2 separate regions of the Homo sapiens genome follow, and region 2 is linked to region 1. The links are contacts of gene promoters, found by promoter capture Hi-C in blood cells and fetal thymus (Javierre and others, 2016). All regions are on one chromosome and are shown on one strand. Each heading gives the region's core, a stretch centred on a gene start or on the middle of the fragment in contact. The rest is flanking DNA. Distances are from core to core; before and after follow the strand shown. Region 1 holds the start of AGAP3 (ArfGAP with GTPase domain, ankyrin repeat and PH domain 3). Region 2 holds the start of ZYX (zyxin).

Region 1 (5,751 bases), core at 863-3,362:
TACAGGCCAGTCTTGATTTAAAATAATCTATCCTAGTCTTCCCATGGTTCTTGCCTACTGTGGGAGCAAGTGGCCCAAATATTGCCTTAGGAATGTCAGTCTAGATTGATACCATACAGAACTAACCTACCTCTAGTTCCATCCCTCCTGTTCATTCATTTATTCTACTAACATATTTTTTAAAAGATGTACTATGGCCAGGCGCAGTGGCTCACGCCTGTAATCCTGGCACTTTGGGAGCCAAGGCAGGCGGATCACTGAGTTCGAGACCAGCCTGGCCAACATGGTAAAACCCTGTCTCTACAAAAAAAAATACAAAAATTAGCTGGGCGTGGTGGCGGGCGCCTGTAATCCCAGCTACTCGGGAGGCTGAGGCAGGAGAATCATTTGAATGCGGGAGGTGGAGGTTGCAGTGAGCTGAGATCGAGTCACTGCACTCCAGCCTGGGTGACAGAGTGAGACTCCGTCTCAAAAAAAATTACACACACACACACACACACACACACACACACACACACACACACTATATCCCAGGCATTGTGCAAGATACTGGGAATAAAATGGTGAATCAGACCCTCTTCCTGCCCTCATGTGGCTCCATATACTAGTAGAAGAGCTAGACGTGTGAACAGCCCAACAGTGCTATAACACGTGTGTGCTAGTTGCTGGGGCAACACATTTGAGGAGCTCTTTGCTCTTAGTGTCTCTCTTGGGAGGTATACCTGGTGCTACTTCCTGCTGTCAATTCTAATTAAGCACCTAAAAGAGATGTTGGATGTTACTTTTAGAATTATACAACATCAGAACTAGGTTTTATGTTCAACCACTATATTTCGCAGATGAAACCCAGAGAGGGCACAAGATATCCTTAAGCTTATGCAGGGAGATAGAAACACAGGTTCCTCAGGAGCTTAGGAGACCCTGTGTGTTGATTAGCTTGCACCAGGTGCTTTGGAAGGTACAAGGAACTCGGGAATAGTGACTGGGTTGGTTCTGGGGCTGAGTTGTGTGGGTAATCAAACAGTGGACAGCTTCATGCTGGGAAAAGATCCAGCTTGGCCAGGGAAGTGGAAGTGTGCGTAAGAAGGACGATGTGTGTCACTGATGCCCTAGGATATCTGGGGGTAGCAGATACCCTGCAACATCTCTGGCAGATTTATTGGCTGCGGCCTCTGCAAATGTCACCTCTTGTAGGTTTTAGGAAACGTGTGTGTGTTGGTGGGGGGGAGGGGGCTAACAGAACTGCAGCCCACTTTGGCAATGGGACTGCAGAGGAACTGGGACATTTCAGGGAGCTCCCTGGCCCTAGAGGGAGTGAAAGGACAGGATGGACAAGGGGTGAGGACAAGAAAAATTGAGAGCCACGTGGGCTTTGGTTGGTCTCTCCAATGGGATGAGTAGGGGAGAAAGGCATATACTATTTCATCCCTCCCTCTTCTTCCTCTATGTACCAATGGGGTCGGGTAGCATTTAGCTAATCTCCCAAGTCCGGCAGGGGGAGGGTCTTTTAGGAGAGCACTGCTGCAGCCGGCAGTGGAGAGCCTGGGCAGGGAGACAGGGAGAAAACTCCGGCAGCAGGGTGGTCTCTAGGGCTGACCTCGGAGCCTGGGGACAGGGGAGCCTATGCCGCACTGAAGGCGGGACGCTGTAAGCGAGGAGCAGCTGGGCCTGGGCGGACTCCTCGGCCAATCAGCCTCGGTCAGCAGCACCCTCAGGCGCAGGGCACTGTTTGGGCATTGCCTAGAGATCCGACACCCCGCCCAGATCAGCGCAGGGAGGCGAAAGCGACAGCCGGGCGCGGGAGGAGACCAGGGCAGCTGTCCCCTCCGCGAGGGTGGCCCTCGAGGCAATGCGGGTGGGGGCTGGTGAGGAGGCGGAAGGGCCGAGGCTGAGTGGGAGGGGCCGGGGCGCCAGGGCTGGAGCGCGCGGCTCGGGGGTGGAGGCTGCAGAGCCAGCGAGCGAGCGAGGGGCGGGGGCGCCCGGGCCGGCGCGCAGGAGGGGCGGGGGCGGCGGGGAGGGGGGCTCGGGCTGCGTGTGCCGGAGCCGGCGGGGGCGGCGGTGCGTGCGCATGACGCGGGGGGAGGGCCTGGGCCGCGCGCTCCCGGTCCCGTTGTTGTTGCCGCTGGAGGCTGCTCCGAGGCAGCGGGATCACGGCGCTGGGAAGCGCTCGGCAGCGGCGGCCACAGCGTGCGCGGCGGCGCCTCCTGGCCTCGGCCTCCGGCCCCCGGCCCCCGGCTCCATGCGCTAGCCCCGCGCCGCCAGCCCAGTAGTCCCGGCCCCGCCAGCCCCGCGCTCCCGCTCGCCGCTGCCGCCGCCGCCGCCGCCGCCGCCTCCGCCGCGCCGCCCCGGGCCCGCCTCGGGCCCCACGGCTCCGAAGCCATGAACTTCCAGGCGGGCGGGGGGCAGAGCCCGCAGCAGCAGCAGAGCCTGGCGGCTCCGGGGGGCGGCGGCGCTGCCGCGCAGCAGCTCGTCTGCGGCGGGCAGTTCGGCGGCGCGGGGCCCGGGGCCGGGGGCGGCGGCGGCCCCTCGCAGCAGCTGGCCGGCGGGCCCCCCCAGCAGTTCGCGCTCTCCAACTCCGCGGCCATCCGGGCCGAGATCCAGCGCTTCGAGTCCGTGCATCCCAATATCTACGCCATCTACGACCTGATCGAGCGCATCGAGGATTTGGCGCTGCAGAACCAGATCCGGGAGCACGTCATCTCCATCGAGGGTGAGCGGAGCCGGGGGCTGCGGGAGCCGGGGCGCAGTGGCCTCTCCGGCGCCGGCCGAGGGCTCCACAGGCCGTGCCTGGCCATGCTCTCCCTGTCGGGGGTCCTTGCGCGCTTGAGGACCAGGCCACGAGGTTTGCCGATCTGTGTTGCAGAACCGGCGGGCAGCTTCGCCATATCTCGTTCGGGGACACTTTGGGGTTGGGGGTTTTCTGCTGACTGTGTTCCAGGGCGCGAAGGTGGTGTCGCTTGGGGGGGCCGGGACCAGATCTGTCCAGGCCTGGCCGGGGAAGGTGGGCGCGGCAGAGGGCTTCAGCTGCGGGGAGGTGGGGTCGTGACCGGGGAGGCTTCTTAGCCGCTGCCCGGGCCCTGCTCCGCAGTGGGGCGGGGGATCGGAGCCTCGCGTTAGTGGATGGCAGCCTTCCCGGGCCCAGCGCCCGCAGGCCCGGAGGGTGGCGCTCGCCGCGGCGCCCTCTCCCGACGCACACCCCCTACGCCGCGGCGGCCAAGCGGGAGCGGGCCGGGCCTGGCGCTGGGCTGAGGCTCAGCGACCGCGTGGGAGGCGCCGGCAGGTCCATCCGCGCTTTGGCCGGGTCATGAGCCTGACGGGGATCCGCGGCTCCTCGGTCTGGAGGCAGCTGCTGGGCAGCCGGGTGCTGACCGACCGCCAGGGACACCGCACCCGGAGTCGGGGACCGGAAACCCCCGGCCACTGCGCTGCCTAGCGCTTTTTTCTCTGGGCCCTTAGGCCCTGGACTTTCGACCGCTGAGGGCACAGGAAGTGGTGGCACGCTGCTGGCAGATGCCTCGCAAGCCCTGGTGTGGTGGGTGCTGGAGGCACCCGCAGGCACCCCGGTGGCATGGTGACCTTCGAGCGGGCACGGACAGATGGGCCTCACCCTGGGCCATCTGCTTCCTCCCCCAGCTCTGTTTGAAAGGGGACGCCCACCGGCAGGTGGTGGGTTTGGCCTCAGTGGAAATGCAGTGAGAGCCAAGGCCTTTTGCGATAACATGGAGTTATGGGCAGGGGCCTGTCCCTGACTTGGGCCTTAAGGTTAGGGCCCCACTCCCAGCTTCATCTGCTTGCCTGAGGTTCTGGGGGATAGTGCACCTGAACACCTCCCTTTCTGCTTTCAGAGGTCCCCATAGCCGGGGAAGAAGTACTGGGTCTGGGGGGACCCCATGTGGTGCTGGGTTCTATCTTTTGTTGTGACATGCCAGTCTGACTTCCTTCTGCCTTTTCCCAACCCGTTCTTATTTCTTTCCTCTCAAGGCTGAGTTCTCTGTGAACTAATTAGGTGACAGAAAAAACTCATTAACGTGGATCTGAGTAAATGGCCTGAATCACCGCTGTGGCTGGGGACTAGGAGATGGCATTTGTGCGAGCCCTGGGCCCCAAAGACAGGAGATGACCAATTTTTCCTCTTAGATCTGAAGAGGGTGGAGGCGGGAGAGACATCGTTGCTGCAGCTTCACTGTCCTTGGAGGAAGTAAAGACATTCCTGATTTGCTCCAAGCTTACCTTCCCCCAGCTCCTTCTGGAGGGCGACAAGCCTCGTGGGCCGGCCACAGGAGGGTGGGGGCACATCTGCTTCCGAGCTTTTCCCAGAGCAGGGAGAGGTTTCCGGGCTCCCCTGGCTCCAGCTTGATGAGCAGCGACCCCTCCTCCCCAGCTCAGGGGAGCCTCTGGTTGAGCATCTTTTGTGATGTGAAGGCTGATTCCTGGGGCGCCCTTGAGTTTTTTTTGCCTGATCTTAAATTTAACACAACAGGCAGAATTTCCCCTCCTAGAGCCCTCCCCTGACCGACTTCTCCATTGCGGTTTGGAAATACCCCATGGTTCCGTCTACTAGGCCTGGAAGCTCGGCCTCACCCTCGTGAAATCCCGGGAGCCGGTGTCTCACTGTCACCAGACCGACCCAGCCGCGGCTCACACATCCGTTCTCAGCCCTGCTGTTCCCACTCCTGGGCCCTGCTGCCCTGCTGCCCTGCTGTCCCTCCCTCCCCCCTGCCCAGCCTCTCCTGGCACCGTCATCTTTATCCACCTCACCCGTCTTGCGTTCCCACTTTTCTGCTGTAGGCAGTCTTCAAAAGAAAAAAAAAACCACTCCTTCTCCAGTTTCTGCCCTATATCCTTCCTGCGATAGAACTCCTCTCCATCTGCCAAACCATATTGCTTCTGTCCTGCGAAGCGGTGTCCCCACCTTCTTTCTGCGAGGAGGGAGAGGCGCAGACTCCCTGGGCGTTTCCGAGCACAGTCTGAGGCTGGACTGAGACCCAGCCCTCCACCCCCAGCCCCAGGGCGGAACAGACCTAGGCTGTTACATAAACACAGTGTCAGCTGGGAGCCGGGTCCTGTGTTTCCTGGGGCTAAGCCTCTCGGTGGAAAGGGGCGGCAGTTCCGAGTGTATAACAAAGCCTCCCTCACTCTGTTTAGACTTCGGTGAAGGGTTTGTTTGTCCCAGCTCTGAAGGTGACGTGGGACCTGCGGTCAGGATCCATCTGGCTCTGAGGAAGTGCAGTGGGCACTTGGGCCTCCTGTAGTCTCTGCCACTCACAGTCACTTCTGACCCCGTGTCCAGGACAGGAGGAAGCAGGGGATGTTTGGCTTTCCTGTGTTTCAGGACAGGATTTGAGGAGAGGGAGACCATTTTGAAAAGTTCCTTTCCCACCAGAGGCCAAGGAAAGAGAAAACCTGCCCATTACTTGGCCTTAGGGAGTGGAAGAAGTACAGCCTTCAGCTGGGAGGGAGAGCTGGAGGGCTCACTATGTGCAGAGCCTCTGAGCCACCTTCACCTCACTAGTGGGGAAACTGAGGCTCAGAGAAGGGAGGGAGCCAAGCGGATACAGCCAGGGAGAGTATAGGCCTTCAACAGGAGCCCGCTTCCGGCTTGGCACTCACCTGCAGTGAGCGCTCCCTGACAGCTTGGGTTTCCTGGCTGAGTCCTAGAAAGAGGGATGCAGGAGAACGAGGGCCTCAGTCCAAATGGGGACACTGGGCACGTGGAGCGCAGGATGTTGTACCAAGCTAGCCAGGAGCCCC
Region 2 (5,589 bases), core at 1,731-4,230, 7.7 Mb before region 1:
CGTGAAGATGTTTTAGGTAGTAAAGGGCAGTGGCCATTTTCTCACTTTGTCTCCCTGGCCTGGTCTTAAGCTGTTGGGCATTCTTTAGTCAGGAACATCTTCTTATTTGCTGTACTTCACACATACTGCCTAAGGATATCAATTAGAATTGCTTACTTAAGAAAAATGCCCAGCAATCGTTAAGGCCACTCTTGTTCATTTCCTGCATTTTTTTTTTTTTTTTTTTTGAGATGGAGTCTCACTCTGTTGCCCAGGCTGGAGTGCAGTGGCGTGATCTTGGCTCACTGCAACTTCCGCCTCCTGGGTTCAAGCGATTCTTCTCCTGCTTCAGCCTCCCCAGTAGCTGGGACTACACGCTCCCGCCACCTCACCAGGCTAATTTTTGTATTTTTAGTAGAGACTGGGTTTCACCACGTTGGTCAGGCTTGTCTCAAACTTCCGACCTCAAGTGATCTGCCTGCCTTGGCCTCCAAAGTGCTGGGATTACAGGCGTGAGCCACTGCGCCCAGCCCATTGTCTTCATTTTAAGAGCACTGACTCTGCTGCTCCTCTTGAGACATCTTGGGCAGTGATTCTGTTCTTCTGGGATACTCTGGGTGTTTCTACTTGTATTTAGAATGGCTGGCTTAAAAGTCTTTGTTTGAATATTCCGCATTCTGAATGCTCTTAGTTGTCAGTAAAACTATGCCTGCCTACGCACTCTTCTATTTCTGATTTAAAAATAGGTTCAGCTGCCTAACAATTACACATACTCTATTTTGCACGCGCACATTACTTAAGGAGACATTTAGAGGGTAGATAGCTTTTATTCCTATGAGTTATCTTGAAATCATCTTCTTAACTATCTTTTTTTCCCCAAAGGGGCCATATTTTGAAGGATTTGTGATGAGACTTTTGGTCTGTGAAGCCCAAGACACAATCTCCAACATGCACAGGAAATCCAGTATCAAATTTCTAACATGTCTTCAGAGACAGGCCCAGGGCTGGCTTGAGCGTGTCAGAGAGGTGTGCACTGCGTACTACCCATCATACATGGCCACACATGCCTGTGGCTGTGAGAAATACTGGTGGTGACAAAGACAATGAGATGCCAGAGAAAAAGATCAGTGGGGTTTGCAAAAGTGATTAAGATGTCGTCCTAGGTATAATTAAAGACTTAATAAGGTTGAAGGAAAGAGAGGACATTGCACATACCGAGGCCCCTGAGAGATCTGCCTGGCAACCCAGAAAGGGACATATGGGGGAAAACGCCTTAGTGTAACCAGGTCAGAATTTTCATTCTGGGCAGAACTGGAATTTGAATAATAATACTGAGTCATATAGCGCATACAGCTATGACATTTCATTTATTTCTCTATATAATGCAATAAAGTAGATGGATTAACCGTGACGTTTACAGATGGAGCAGGGGAGAATGAAGAGGCGTCAGTTTGGGCATCAGGCTGGATCTTCACACTCTGACCTCACTCTGCTCTATCCTGCCCAGTGTTGCTTCACCTGATATCAGGGGTGCAAGGCAACCAGATCTGACACCAGTTTCAGTTTAGATCCTGCCTTTACCTGGGTGTGACCCGGGTCCATCTCTTCAGCTCGGCCTCTGCTTTCTCTTCATAAACTTTTGGGGTTAGTCCTCGGATGATCTCTAAAACATGGCCCAGGTGCTCCTTGCCAGTAGAGTGTAGCCGGATTTGGAGGGACTGGACACTCAGTGTGAACAAGACGAAGGCCTCAGGAGGCAGTAAAAGCTGACAAGAGGAGAGAAAATGAAGCGCCTACGGGTGCATACTGGACTAGCGGGCGAAAGGCCATGACTCCTTAGTTTGGAGAAAGAACTGGGGCCGAGATTGGGGAAGTTTCCCAGTGCAATTAAAAAAAAAAAAAAAAAGAACTAGAAGAATTACCCAGGTCTGGCTTCTTTCGTGTAGCCTGGGGCTGAGTCGCAGGCTGAGAAATCCAGTCTGGCCAGTAGGGGGCTCCACCAAGCGCAGTCTCAGAATGCCCAAGAGCTCCACCGTCGCCCGGGGTCTCCACCAAGCGCAGTCTCAGAATGCCCAAGAGCCCCACCGTCGCCCGGGGTCTCCAAGAGGAGTGGGTCGTGGTGGGCGTTGAAGGGCCGTAAAAGACGAGCAGCCCGCGTCCGCGTCCGTCCTCCCGGGTCTCCAGTCCGCAGGCGGCCGCCGCCTCGGCCCCGCCCTCCCACCTCCATTCCCGGCCCCGCGGACCCGAACGGTCCCTCTCGCAACCGATCTGCTGGCTGGGGCGCTGGGGATGCGAATTCCTAGAAGCCTTAAGAGGCTGCCCAGCGTTGGAAGTTCGTATCCCCAAGAATGCTGGAGGTTCCGGCTCACACACCCCCTCCGGGCACAGAGTCAGCTGGGGGGTGCTGGGAGGGAGAACGCCCCGCTCCTCACCCCCCATCCCCGTGCACCCTGGAGCCCAGCTCCATACGTTCGGCCACCCCAGGCGGACTCGGGGTGGCCGGGTAGCGGGTGGTGGCAGGAGGGGACCGGGTAACGGCAGGCCCGAGAGGAGGTCGCTGGGCCGGGCCGGAGGCGCACAGGGGCTGCGTGGCTACCTCGGCGGCACCCGCCCCACCTCCGCCGGCTAAGCCCGGAGGGGGACGGTGAGTCAGATCTCGGGCACCCGCGGGTCGGGCGGGGAGGGGGAGGCAGGTCAGGAAATGACATCAGAGGCCTGTGCTCAGGGAGTGGGGGTCTGAGCCGGGCTGGGGCGGCGGGGGCGGCAGTGAGTGGGGTGGGGGCGAGCGGACCTCGGCGGAGCCTCCGGCCTGAGGCAGGATCAGGGCCCCTTCCTGGGGGAGTTTCCTGCCTGGTCCGCCCTTCCCCGCTCTCCCCGCCCCCTCTCCGGGCCGCTCCTTGTATGGTCTGGGCGCCGCTCTCTCCCCGCCCCCTCTCTTCTCCCTCCCTCCTCCTTCCGTGTGTCCCTCCCCGCCCGGCTGGAGGCTGCTCCGGACCGGGACGCAGAGTCTGCGGACCCGGCGCCGAGGCGGCCACCCGAGACGCGGCGCGCACGCTCCGGCCTGCGGTGAGGCGCGGGGAGCGGCAGGGCGGCCCCACGGGGAGGGGGCGCGGGGCGCCGGGAGGGGGCGAGTGGGGGTCACCAAGGGGAGCTGGGACCGCCTGGGGCTCCTGAGCCCGGCTCCGCGCTGCGTAACCCGGCGACCCACCCCAGCAGCCCGGCCCGGCCATGGCGGCCCCCCGCCCGTCTCCCGCGATCTCCGTTTCGGTCTCGGCTCCGGCTTTTTACGCCCCGCAGAAGAAGTTCGGCCCTGTGGTGGCCCCAAAGCCCAAAGTGAATCCCTTCCGGCCCGGGGACAGCGAGCCTCCCCCGGCACCCGGGGCCCAGCGCGCACAGATGGGCCGGGTGGGCGAGATTCCCCCGCCGCCCCCGGAAGGTATGCGGCGGGGCTTGGGGAATGTACCCCGGCAGGAGCCGGGGTGGGGGGCAGTCGTTTCGGGAATTTGGGGATGTCTGGAAAGGTTGTTGCCGAGGGGGCTGGGCGCAGCCACCCTGTCCCGAGCAGATGTTCTTACCTCATCGTGGAGCTCGTGGCTGGGAGCCAGGGCTCCTGGGACCGTTCCAAGTCCCCCGCCTGGGAGTGGGAGTCGGGAATGTGGGGCACGAATCTTCCCCTCCGGGTCCGTTTTCCGAAGTGTAACGGGAGCTGCACCACTCCTCGGCAGTGCGCCCGGCCTTTCCTGACCTGGTACTCCCAGGGCGCCCTGCGCCCCTCCTTTGCTTCCCCACACGCTCTGGGACCCCTGAGAGAGTTCTTGGGTTAGGGGTTAGAGCGGTTAACTGAGGGGAGCTTGGGTGAGGGGTAGAGGGACCCCGGCCGACGTCTTTCTCCTTCCTACCCCAGACTTTCCCCTGCCTCCACCTCCCCTTGCTGGGGATGGCGACGATGCAGAGGGTGCTCTGGGAGGTGCCTTCCCGCCGCCCCCTCCCCCGATCGAGGAATCATTTCCCCCTGCGCCTCTGGAGGAGGAGATCTTCCCTTCCCCGCCGCCTCCTCCGGAGGAGGAGGGAGGGCCTGAGGCCCCCATACCGCCCCCACCACAGGTACGGAGGCCTGGGAGGGGCGGCTGCACTGGACACCCCCAAGGAGAGGAGAAGAGGGCCCTTTCTTCTTACCTCCCCTGCACCTCTGCCTTGGGGGTGGGGGGATAGAGGCATGGAATAGGTGCTCTGACCTCTGACCCTCTAGCCCAGGGAGAAGGTGAGCAGTATTGATTTGGAGATCGACTCTCTGTCCTCACTGCTGGATGACATGACCAAGAATGATCCTTTCAAAGCCCGGGTAAGGGACCGGAGAGTAGGAAAAGCAGGGCTCAGGGCCAGAGAGACTGGGCATAGAACTAAGGAGGATGGTGTCCTCCTGACTGCATCTCTCTTCCCTCTCCCACCCCTTGCAGGTGTCATCTGGATATGTGCCCCCACCAGTGGCCACTCCATTCAGTTCCAAGTCCAGTACCAAGCCTGCAGCCGGGGGCACAGCACCCCTGCCTCCTTGGAAGTCCCCTTCCAGCTCCCAGCCTCTGCCCCAGGTTCCGGCTCCGGCTCAGAGCCAGACACAGTTCCATGTTCAGCCCCAGCCCCAGCCCAAGCCTCAGGTCCAACTCCATGTCCAGTCCCAGACCCAGCCTGTGTCTTTGGCTAACACCCAGCCCCGAGGGCCCCCAGCCTCATCTCCGGCTCCAGCCCCTAAGTTTTCTCCAGTGACTCCTAAGTTTACTCCTGTGGCTTCCAAGTTCAGTCCTGGAGCCCCAGGTGGATCTGGGTCACAACCAAATCAAAAATTGGGGCACCCCGAAGCTCTTTCTGCTGGCACAGGCTCCCCTCAACCTCCCAGCTTCACCTATGCCCAGCAGAGGGAGAAGCCCCGAGTGCAGGAGAAGCAGCACCCCGTGCCCCCACCGGCTCAGAACCAAAACCAGGTGAGGGATGGTGATAGGACAAGGCTTGGTACCAGGGCACTGGGGCGGGGCTGGGTCAGGAGCCAGAGCATAAGCATAAGGTGATTGGAGAGTCAGGGTGGACACGGGGGTTGCGGGGTGGCGGGATAGGAATTTTCATCCTCTGGGGTTAGCCTGGTGGAACAATGGTAGGAAAATGCTCCTCTGGAGGAGAGGCCTGGCTGGGTGTGGGGCTGGGTGGGGCCTGGCTGGGACGGCGCAGAGAGCATGGGCTCTGAATTAGGAGGATCTGGTGGACCTTTCCTTGTGCCTTTACCCCAGAAAGTTAAAGGGAGGGATGAGATCACCAGTTCCACCTTGGTTTTTCCCATTCTTGGGTCTTGAGTTAATCTCCCTGCTCCTCTGAGCACTCTTTCTGCCTGAGGGCTTGGAGGTAAGAGACAGCCCCAGTAAACACTGGTTGAGCCAGCATCCACCACGTGCCAGGCACTGTGCTCTGTGCCCAGGAGGGTAGGACATGGGAGGGAAGAGATCTCTGCAAGAAGCTCAGCCTTCAGGTGTCAGATGGACCTGGAATGGAATTCTTGGCTCAGCTTCTCCCAAGTCCTTAGACTGGGCAAGTTAGGTGAACCCTGAGCCTCAGTTTCTCAAT

Evidence for each region. Contacts are between HindIII fragments. The CHiCAGO score rates a contact against its expected background, and 5 or more counts as called.
Region 2: the fragment with the promoter of ZYX here is called in contact with the fragment with the promoter of AGAP3 in region 1 in 1 of 17 cell types (M0 macrophages); the score reaches 6.2 in M0 macrophages.

What each region holds. Positions count from the first base shown.
Region 1 is chr7:151,084,363-151,090,113 of GRCh38, forward strand. AGAP3 (ArfGAP with GTPase domain, ankyrin repeat and PH domain 3) reads left to right here and starts at 2,113. Exons shown (of 18, transcript NM_031946.7): 1 at 2,113-2,710. The coding sequence starts at 2,380. LOC124901778 (a long non-coding RNA gene) reads left to right here and starts at 4,641. Exons shown (of 2, transcript XR_007060595.1): 1 at 4,641-5,751. RefSeq lists silencers at 1,833-2,082, 2,133-2,222, 2,589-2,658, 3,019-3,288 and enhancers at 3,509-3,668, 5,166-5,676, 5,677-5,751. The HindIII fragment of the contact is 3,352 bases long and covers 872-4,223 here.
Region 2 is chr7:143,378,365-143,383,953 of GRCh38, forward strand. It overlaps ZYX (zyxin), which reads left to right and starts at 2,981. Exons shown (of 10, transcript NM_003461.5): 1 at 2,981-3,045; 2 at 3,193-3,415; 3 at 3,884-4,083; 4 at 4,229-4,321; 5 at 4,437-4,958. The coding sequence starts at 3,208. FAM131B-AS2 (FAM131B antisense RNA 2) reads right to left here and starts at 2,661. Exons shown (of 2, transcript NR_161353.1): 1 at 1,902-2,661; 2 at 791-1,745. It overlaps MIR6892 (microRNA 6892), which reads left to right and starts at 4,322; the gene lies at 4,322-4,436. It also overlaps a transcript of FAM131B not described here. RefSeq lists enhancers at 1,541-1,620, 1,777-2,677, 1,801-1,890 and silencers at 2,391-3,420, 3,451-3,500. The HindIII fragment of the contact is 8,995 bases long and covers 1-5,589 here.